2 separate regions of the Homo sapiens genome follow, and region 1 is linked to region 2. The links are contacts of gene promoters, found by promoter capture Hi-C in human tissues and cell types (Jung and others, 2019). All regions are on one chromosome and are shown on one strand. The core of a region is centred on a gene start or on the middle of the fragment in contact, and the rest is flanking DNA. Distances in the headings are between cores, read along the strand shown.

Region 1 (4,619 bases), core at 1,185-3,684, 260 kb after region 2:
GAATGGTACATAATGGTTAAGACCACAAGCTCTTCACCCCAGAAAGAAATGGTTCTGAATCCCAACCTTTCCATTTACCAACCTTGTGACCTTGCGCATGTTACTAAACCTCTCTGGATCTTAGTGTCCTCATCTGCAAAATGAGCATAATAGTGGTACTTCCCTTGTAGGATTGTTTTTAATATTAAACAGTATACAAAGAGCCTAGCACAGTGTCTAGCACATGTTAAGCATGCAATAATTACTTTAATTGTAGAGTCACAATTCTGGAAGCCATTCCCCTCAGGATACCTAAGGGATGAGGCAGAGAGGGATCTTGGGACATGGGCAGGGCTGGTAAACGTGAACCAGGAAGGGTATTGTCATTAATTGGACTAAAGATTTGCTAGTCATTTTTCCTTTGAAGATGAGGCTGAATGCTGGAGCCAAGAAAGAGGAACTTCCTAGGCAACTCTAAAGGGGCGGTCAACTAGAGAGAGATGATGAGAGGCAGGACACATACTTCTGGCAATTTAAGGCCCAGATGTGATGCAGGAGCAAAAGGAAAAAAGTGAAGCTTCAGAAGAGGGAAGAAGGCTAGAGATCTAAGCCTGGGAGAGAAGGAGCTTTTTAGACCCTAAGCCAGGAGACCTCCAGGGGAGTGATCAGCAGAGGAGCTGAACTTTGGTGAAGGTTCCTCAATCAGGGTGAGGAACCTTGTACTACGTGTCTTTTTTTCCCATGAGTTTATAGACTTTGGGTTTTCTTTTCCCTTCCAGTCCTACAAAATGTTCTTTCAGGCAGGTTAAGTGATTTGGGAATTCTCTGCATTCTCTGTGGTTGGGGGCTGCCTCAGCTAGTTGGGTTGGGGCAGTGAGGTAGACAGGAGGCATTTACTAGAGAAATGCCAGATCTGTTTACTCTTTCAAGGAATGTGTGCTTGTGTGTGTCTTATTCCTACGGTATATCCTAGCTCAGGGCTGGGCACACAGGAAGCATCCCGAGAGTACTTATTAGATTGAATCTTATTCACATCTAACTGCTACCTTCTACACTAGCCAAGAGGTCCTTCCTTCTTGGCCTGGGGAGGTATTGTCCTGGCCTCTCCACCTCCTGGCTCTTACTTGGTCAGCGATGACTGTCCGGTGCTGATACATTCCAGGGTTAAGCTGCCAACGACAGAACTGGCCTCTCCAGCCACGGGTAATAGTGCCTCCCCCGATGCCACCCAAGGGACAACCTAGAGAAATCAGGGTGGTTAGTGGGGTATTGGGAGAGGAAAATAAGCCCATTTCTAACTTTCTAGACTATAAAGCCTGGTTCCTCTGAAAACCTAGGGGATGGAACAGTGCAATTTGCATAAGCTGGAAGTCTCTTCCTAACTGTGGTAGACCTGGAGGCTAGGCCTTCTCTGAGCAGAGCAGAGATGGGGTGGGGCTCACCATAAATCTGTCTTAGGGGTACAGAATTGATCATGTCGATGAAAGGTGTCTTCTTTTCCACATGGGTCTTCCGGTACCACCACTGCAGGTACCTGAGGAGCAAGAGGCAATGTGAGTGGAAGGGGGCAGGTGGGCAGCTGTTCACAGGCTGAGTCACCTGCCTCTCTCTGTGACCTCCCATTAAATGTCCCAAGGACATCTGCTTTCAAACCTTTCTTCCTCTTGATTTCTATACAGTTCAAGGTCCCTTCATCTTCCCAGTCACCCCAGCTGAAGTGAAGGAGTGGCTTTGTTTCTCTCCTTTGTTCTCCTCAGAAGGGGCTTTCTGATCTCTCCTTACCTCTCTAGCACCACCACCACTGCTTTATTTCCAACATCAGGAGCTTCTGTCTGACGTGCTGAAAGGACCATTTATGGTTTCCTGGCCTACAGCCTCCGCCCCCAATCCCCTACCTCCAAAACAGGCATAGGCTGCTGGGAATAACTTTCTTATCTTTATTTTTATTATTTATTATTTTTTTTTTGAGACAGAGTTTCGTTCCTTGTTGTCCAGGCTGGAGTGCAGTGGCTCGGTCTTGGCTCACTGCAAACTCCGCCTCCCAAGTTCAAGAAATTCTTCTGCCTCAGCCTCCCAAGTAGCTGGGATTACAGGTGCCCGCCACCATGCCTGGCACATTTTTTTGTGTTTTTAGTAGAGATGGGGTTTCACCATGTTAGCCAGGCTGGTCTTGAACTCCTGACCTCAGGTGATCCGCCCGCCTCGGCCTCCCAAAGTGCTGGGATTAGAGGCGTGAGCTACCGCTTCTGGCCTTTCTTCTTTTTAAAATGATCATTTTTCTTTCTAATTATGAAAGGTGAAAGGGGGAAAAAAATAATCTCACCCATAGACAATCAGTGTTTATATTTATTTCTGGACATTTCCTCTCAAGCCTTTTTTTTTTTTTTTTTTAAATTCAACATTTAAACTGTGAAGCTTTCTGATTTTGCTCTTGGTAAAGCCTTCAAAAAATCCCAACATTTTCCTGGGCTTGGTACAGCCCTATATCCAAGAGGCAAATGATTGAGGCTGTTTTCAATAGGCAAACGATTCTGTTTTCAAGGCTCTGACATCTGTCCCAGCCTATCTTCTAATCTTATTTCCTACAAATTCTCATTCCAGATGGGTCCTCACTAAGTAGCCCCTGCCCTGCCAGACTCTTTCCCATTTCCACTCTCCTGCCTACTGCCACATTATGCCTACTGTTCAGTCACACCACTTCTAACCAAATAATTGGGTAAGTAACCCCTAAGTCCCAGTTTCCTCATCTACAAAATGGGGATACCACCTGCTCTAGCTATCTAATGAAATGGTTGAAAGATCAAATGACATAATAGATAAGAAAGCCATAAAGTACAGGTATGATTATTACTCATATATACAAACTGTTATCTCAATTCCTAATCAGACATTGCCTTGTTATTTCAATGTTCCTCATGTGAGGCTGACATACTTTTAAGTTCCTTGGGGAAAGGGACAATGACAAAGACTAGCTGAATATTACCCTCAGGTCCAAGCACAGGGTAGGACATATGGTCTGCAGTCAATGCATATTTGCCAATTTTACAGATGAATGAACATACAAATGATGGGGCACAAGAGAGATAACAGACTGGAGCAGAGGAGAAGAAATGTGATTAATGAATAGGGACAGCGGCCAGGCACGGTGGCTCACACCTGTAATCCCAGCACTTTGAGAGGCCGAGGTGGGCGGATCACGTGAGGTCAGGAGTTCAAGACCAGCCTGGCCAATGTGGTGAAACCCCGTCTCTACTAAAAATACAAAAACATTAGCCAGCTGTGGTGGCAGGCACCTGCAATCCCAGCTACTCAGGAGGCTGAGGCAGGAGAATCGCTTGAACCCAGGAGACGGAGGTTGCACTGAGCTGAGATTGCACCATTGTACTCCAGCCTGGGTGACAAGAGCAAGACTGTCTCAAAAAAAAAATAATAATAAAATAAAAAGGGACAGCACATTCTAGGGGTGGAAAGAAGAGGGAAGACAAAGGATGGGATGACAGGAAGGCAGAGAATCCTCTCTGCCAGCTTAGAGAAAACCGGACTTTGAAACTAGAGACCAGAAAGGACTGGTAGAGGGAGGGTGTGGCCGAGGATTAGGGCAACCAGGGAGAGTAACTGCAATCTATGAGGACAGACAGAACAAAGGACTATCTGGCATGGAACAAGCACTCAATAAATATTTATTGAATGAGTGGACTCTGGCTGGAAGGGAGAACAATTGAAATTGAGTTCTTACGAAGGTAAGACCCAGAGAATTCTGTCTTGCTAGAGCTCCTGGTCAGAGTGCCCACAGTTCAGCTCCATCTTAGGAGCTCTCTTACTCCCTTAATATGGTAGCTGGCCATTCCTGACCTATTTGGCCTTCTCCACAATTTCAACCTCAACTCAAGAGTTATCACTTAGAATTCTTGTCTCACCTGTGCTTTCTCCTCATAGGAACTCATCCTATTCCAAAAGCCTTGTATCAGTACCCCCCACTCTATCCTGGAATGGGGAGCCAGGGTCCAGGGGGTTGAGCACAGCTTCAGGCCTCTATGACTCAGTTCATATTTAAGGGCTAAGAGGCTAGGATGCCCATCTTTTCTTGATCTCATTGTTCCTACCACATGCAACTCAGTGTACTTCTCTATGTACACTAGATCCTATTTTGATGCAAAAACTTTTGGGGTCAAACTTGGACTGAATTGATTCCAGAAGCAGCCTGGAGGGATGATTCTTCTCTGCTACAGGCTACCCACAGGCACCAACAAAGCCAGATGTGCAGGCAGCATCAGGCCCTTCCCACTCCCCAGGGCTAGGGTTAGATAACTGATCTCCCCATCACAGCCCCACAGCACTGACTGGGGAAATGAAGGGTCTCCTACTCTAGAAACTGTAAGGGCAGGGTTTCCCAAGCTTTATGCCTCCCTCCACAGTTCTGTGTGTATTGTGTAGACTGAGTCAGGATGACCTCAGGGTGATGCTTTCTGTCCTCACATCCACCTGTTCCTGTTAATGGGTCTGGCTCCTCATCACTAGTCTTTGAACTCAGTGGGGATCTAGATGGGTTCTACATCTATGGCAGTGCCTCTCTGATAAATGACTTAATATCAAGAGCTCTCTATCCCAGAACAGAATGACAGCACCTTCTCATCACTTCA
Region 2 (4,388 bases), core at 1,168-3,667:
GAGACGGGGTTTTACCATGCTAGTGGTCTCAAACTCCTGACCTCAGGTGATCCGCCCGCCTCAGCCTCCCAAAGTGCTGGGATTACAGGCGTGAGCCACCGCGTCTAGCCTAAGAGTCTTCTCAATGGGTGATATGGTTTTGTTAGTGGTGGAAGAGGTCTGAGTTACCCCAAGTTACCTGCAGCCTATCCTTATGGGTCTGTAGCAACTTTAGTCCTTGCTTCATCAGAAGAAAGAATTCGACTGTGGGGCAGAAAGCAGAAAAAGAGACCAAGGCAAGTTCCAGAGTAGGAATGGAAGTTTATTTAAAAAGGCCTTAGAACAGGAAAGAAAGGAAGGTGCGCTTGGAAGAAACCCAAGCGGGCACGTGAAGGTTAAAGAGAGAAGGTCAAGTGCCTAACCAAGATCCTAGGACTTTTACAGGCTGGCCTCTTTCCCATGATTCTTCCCTTAGAGTGGGCTTCCCGAATGCGCAGTGCTTTCCTTCCCGTTTTCCGGTGGAGGGTGCCCCCAGGAGATCATACGTCACCATTTTTGTCTCTTAACACGCATGCCCAGAAAGTTGCTTCTCCCTGAGGCCTGCATTCAATTAGCATTTTGATGTTAACATGTGTGGACCATCAGGAAATGGCCTCTCCCTGGCCCAGCCGAATTATCCTTTTTAAAGAAGCAATGAGGTAATTATGGAACTGTCACTGGTAGAGGGTCTGACTGCAAGTTGTCCAGGTTCTTGGCGTTTTGAACAAAGAATTGGACAAAACGCCCAGCAAAGCAAAGAAAGAATGAAGGAACAAAAGAAGGAAAGCAGGGATGTATTGAAAACGAAAGCACACTCCACAGTGTGGGAGCAGCCGGAGCAGCGGCTCAAGGGCCAGGAAACAGAATCTTCTTGGGTCCAAATACCCCCTAGAAGTTACCCGCCACTTCATGCTCACCTCATGTAAATGAATTCGTAGCCTGCAATCAGTCTGATTGGTTGCAGAAAGCAGCCAAGCAGAGGCTGAAGTGAAGTTACAAAGGTCGCACACCTGTGCAAACATCTGATTGGTTGCAAGAAGCAACCAATCAGAGGCTAGGGTGAAGTTACAAAGTTATACTTCTATGCAAAGTTAGACTCGGCTGCAGTCAGTCTAATTGGTTGCAGATAGCCAATTTCCCATCTGCTGGGCAGAAAAGTTGGGTGGGGGGTTTGTTACTTAGGTGTGGAAAGTTAGGGTTTTCCTTTCAATTTAGTTCCAGGAAGTTGGCATGAACCAGTCTTAGGTTCCCTGCCTCCAGTCCCTATTCTCCTGCCTCAGAACCATCACCCAACATCCCTAGTGGGTAGCAGGGGAGAACCCTCTCCTGCCCCGCTCATGCCTAACTACCTGTAACAGTTTGGCTGTGTCCCCACCCAAAATCTCATCTTGAATTGTAATTCCCATAATCCCCCTGTGTCAAGGGCGGGAACAGGTGGAGGTAATTGGATGATGGGGCTGGTTTCCCCTGCGCCCTTCTCGTGACAGTGAGTGAGTCCCACAAGATCTGATGATTTTATAAGCGTCTGGCATTTCCCTTGCCTGCACTCACTCTGTCCTGCCACCCTGCGAAAAGGATGGCTACTTCTTTGCCTTTTGCCATGATTATAAGCTTCCTGAGGCCTCGCCAACAATGCGGAACTGTGAGTCAGACCTCTTTCCTTCATAGTATTTCTTCATAGCAGTGTCAGAACGGACTAATACAGTGGGTTTCCCATAACATTTGCAGGACTGCCTGCCCCATCCCCCTCTGGCTGTAAACAGCAGGAGTCACACACAGGCATCTTCCATGTCCCCCACACATCCGGCCCTGAAGGGCAGGGGGCGCATGGGTTCTACGTTTCATCAGGGGTTCCGAACCCTGGCTATGCACTGGAGGCCAACCCCACCTCACCCCACCCCACTCCACCCCAGTGGTTCTGAGTCGGTCCAGTGTGAGGTCAGCCCTCCTTCTGTTGTTTGGTTAGTTTCCACACTAGGTTCTACTGGGAAGCCAGCGTTGAGAACCGCCGCCTCAGGCGAAGCTGGGACTCACACCCACCGGCCCTGGAGGCCCGCGGAAGGTTTCCCTGGGTTCCAGCACCCGGGAGCCGCGCGTCGCCAGGCACCACCCCGCGGGGGCGGGCGCGGGCCGCAGAAGATTGGGCCACGGCGGAAGCCTCTCCGCTCCCTTAGCGGGAAAGCTCTGCGCGTGACTCGGCTGCGCCCATCGCTGCGGGAGCCGGGGAGGGGGCGAGCACCTTAGGCCGGGCGGACCGAACCAACGCGCCGCCCGGAGGGGCGGCCTGAGGGCAACCCAGATCGGACCATCGCGCCACGCCGACAGGGGCCGGCCTTTCCAACCCGCCCGGAGGGAGGGGCCGCCGGCGCCTCTAGCCTGCAACGCGACCCCTGGAGGGCGAGACACGCCGCCGCCGCCGCCGCCGCCGGCGCGGAAGGACGAGGCTGAGGCGAGAAACGAGGTAGGAACGCCTCTCCGGAGGCGGGCAGGGTCCCACAGACCCACTGCCCCGCGTTCCAAGGTCTCCCTTAGGGGAGGGCCTGTCTTCCCACCTATGTGCCTTCAGCGCCTGCCCTTCCCTTCAGCCCTTCCCCCTCGGCTGCACCCGCCCTCTGCGTCCGCCCCGACCCCCTGGGCAGACCTCGTCCCCAGCCCTTCTGACCCTTGGCCTTCTCCTGACCCTTCAGCTCTGCGTCCACCGGACCTTCAAACACCCAGCACCCACCGTCCCTTTGGGCGCCACCCCAGATGCATCCCCAACCGTCTCCTCAAACTGCCCCCTTGGGGACACCCTCCCCCCACAAAACGACTCGCGCCCAGTAGTCACCTTGGTACCCCAAGTCCCTGTGACGGCTTTGGGGAAGCGTGGCCGCCCGGCACCCAGGCCGGCGACTGCAGCGGGGGCCTCCCTACTGCCAGTTCCCGGCCGGGTCCTCTGCTCCCTCCACCCTTTTAGCCCCTGCCTCCCTTTATTATCCGCCCGGCGCCGGCGTTGCTTCAGTCTCTGTCTCTCTGTCATCCAGTTTTACCTGGAGAAAACCTTTGGCTTGGCAGTAACCGTCCCCTACTACTGCACTCACTTGCCGCGAAGGGCACGGTGATCCTGTTGCCCACAGTTGGCTGTGGCCCTCCAGGCCGGCCCTGCGGACACGGGGAACTGTCCTGGGGGCAAGGACGGTACACTACTCATCTTTGTATCCCCGGTCCCCAGCACGGTGCCTGGCACATGGTAGTGTTGCTGGTGGAGGGTCTTCACTACCAGTTGTCCTTTGCGTTTTGAACAAGTAATTGAGCAGCGGAGGAATGAAACGCAGGAACAAGTAGATCTGAGTCAGGCAAGGATTACCACTATGTGAACAGTGTCCGTGATAAAGAACACAGGCCTTAAAAAAAAAAAAAAGGCGGAATTTACAAAGGACAAAGGGCCTGAAACCTGTTTTTATTTATTCCTAGGTGGGTGACCTGAGCAGATTTAGTTTCCTGGGGGTTTGGGTTCCACGCGGAAGCAGGTGGTATCGCTGAGGGATGAAACAATGGCTGGAAAGCTGTAGGAGTTGATAAGGTAGAAAGTAGTTACCTAATTAGTAGTGGCATTATTGTAACTGGGGCTCAAAGTATTAGCAAATAAAAGTAGTGACTGGATTTTCTTAGCCGGCTCCTTAGATATTAAGCAGTGGTGGATGGCTTAATGGAAGGAAGAGCAGATCCAAACAGTATACCTGGTATTCTGTTAGTTATGCCCGTCCTGCTGTATGGCCAGCCACTGTTTCTCTTCTGTTTTGAGCCAGGTTAGGATCCCTCTGATTTCTGTGCTGGTATTTAAGATTCCTTTTTGAAGCCACAGTTGCCTTAACTGGAGGCTGGACATGTTCTCATTCATCCATTGCTAGTTTTGATGTATCCTTTTCCGCTTTCTGTCTCCCACCCTCTTACATGTCTTTATAAAGTCTTGGATCAGGCCAGGCACAGTGGCTCAGCCTGTAATCCCGGCACTTTGGGAGGCCCAGGTGGGCGGATCACTAGAGGTCAGAAGTTCAAGATCAGCCTGGCCAACATGGTGAAACCCCATCTCTACTAAAAATACAAAAATTACCGGGCATGGTGGTGTGCACATGTAGTCCCAGCAACTCAGGAGGCTGAAGTCCCAGCAACTCAGGAGGCTGAGGCAGGAGAACCCCTTGAACCTGGGAGGCAGATGTTGCAGTGAGCTGAGATCATGCCACTGCACTCCAGCCTGGGTGACAGAGCAATGCTCTGTCTCAAAATAAAGCCTTGGATCATAGAAACCCAGTGTGGGGAGGGGCTCCTGATCTGGATGGATTAAGCAATACAATTTTTTTTTAACAGTATCTTTTTAATGGCCTTTTCTA

Evidence for each region. Contacts are between HindIII fragments. The study calls those that stand out against the background at their distance.
Region 1: a fragment that was not itself captured here is called in contact with the fragment with the promoter of RUSC2 in region 2 in 1 of the 25 tissues and cell types used here (dorsolateral prefrontal cortex).

Annotation. Positions count from the first base shown.
Region 1 is chr9:35,743,194-35,747,812 of GRCh38, forward strand. It overlaps GBA2 (glucosylceramidase beta 2), which reads right to left. Exons shown (of 17, transcript NM_020944.3): 2 at 1,422-1,513; 3 at 1,104-1,219. Among named protein-coding and RNA genes, the nearest start is that of GBA2, 3.7 kb to the right of the region's middle. The HindIII fragment of the contact is 5,426 bases long and covers 1-4,619 here.
Region 2 is chr9:35,487,694-35,492,081 of GRCh38, forward strand. RUSC2 (RUN and SH3 domain containing 2) reads left to right here and starts at 2,418. Exons shown (of 12, transcript NM_014806.5): 1 at 2,418-2,479. It overlaps LOC105376026 (a long non-coding RNA gene), which reads right to left and starts at 3,934. Exons shown (of 2, transcript XR_929580.4): 1 at 3,738-3,934; 2 at 3,426-3,563. RefSeq lists a silencer at 2,087-2,386. The HindIII fragment of the contact is 10,278 bases long and covers 1-4,388 here.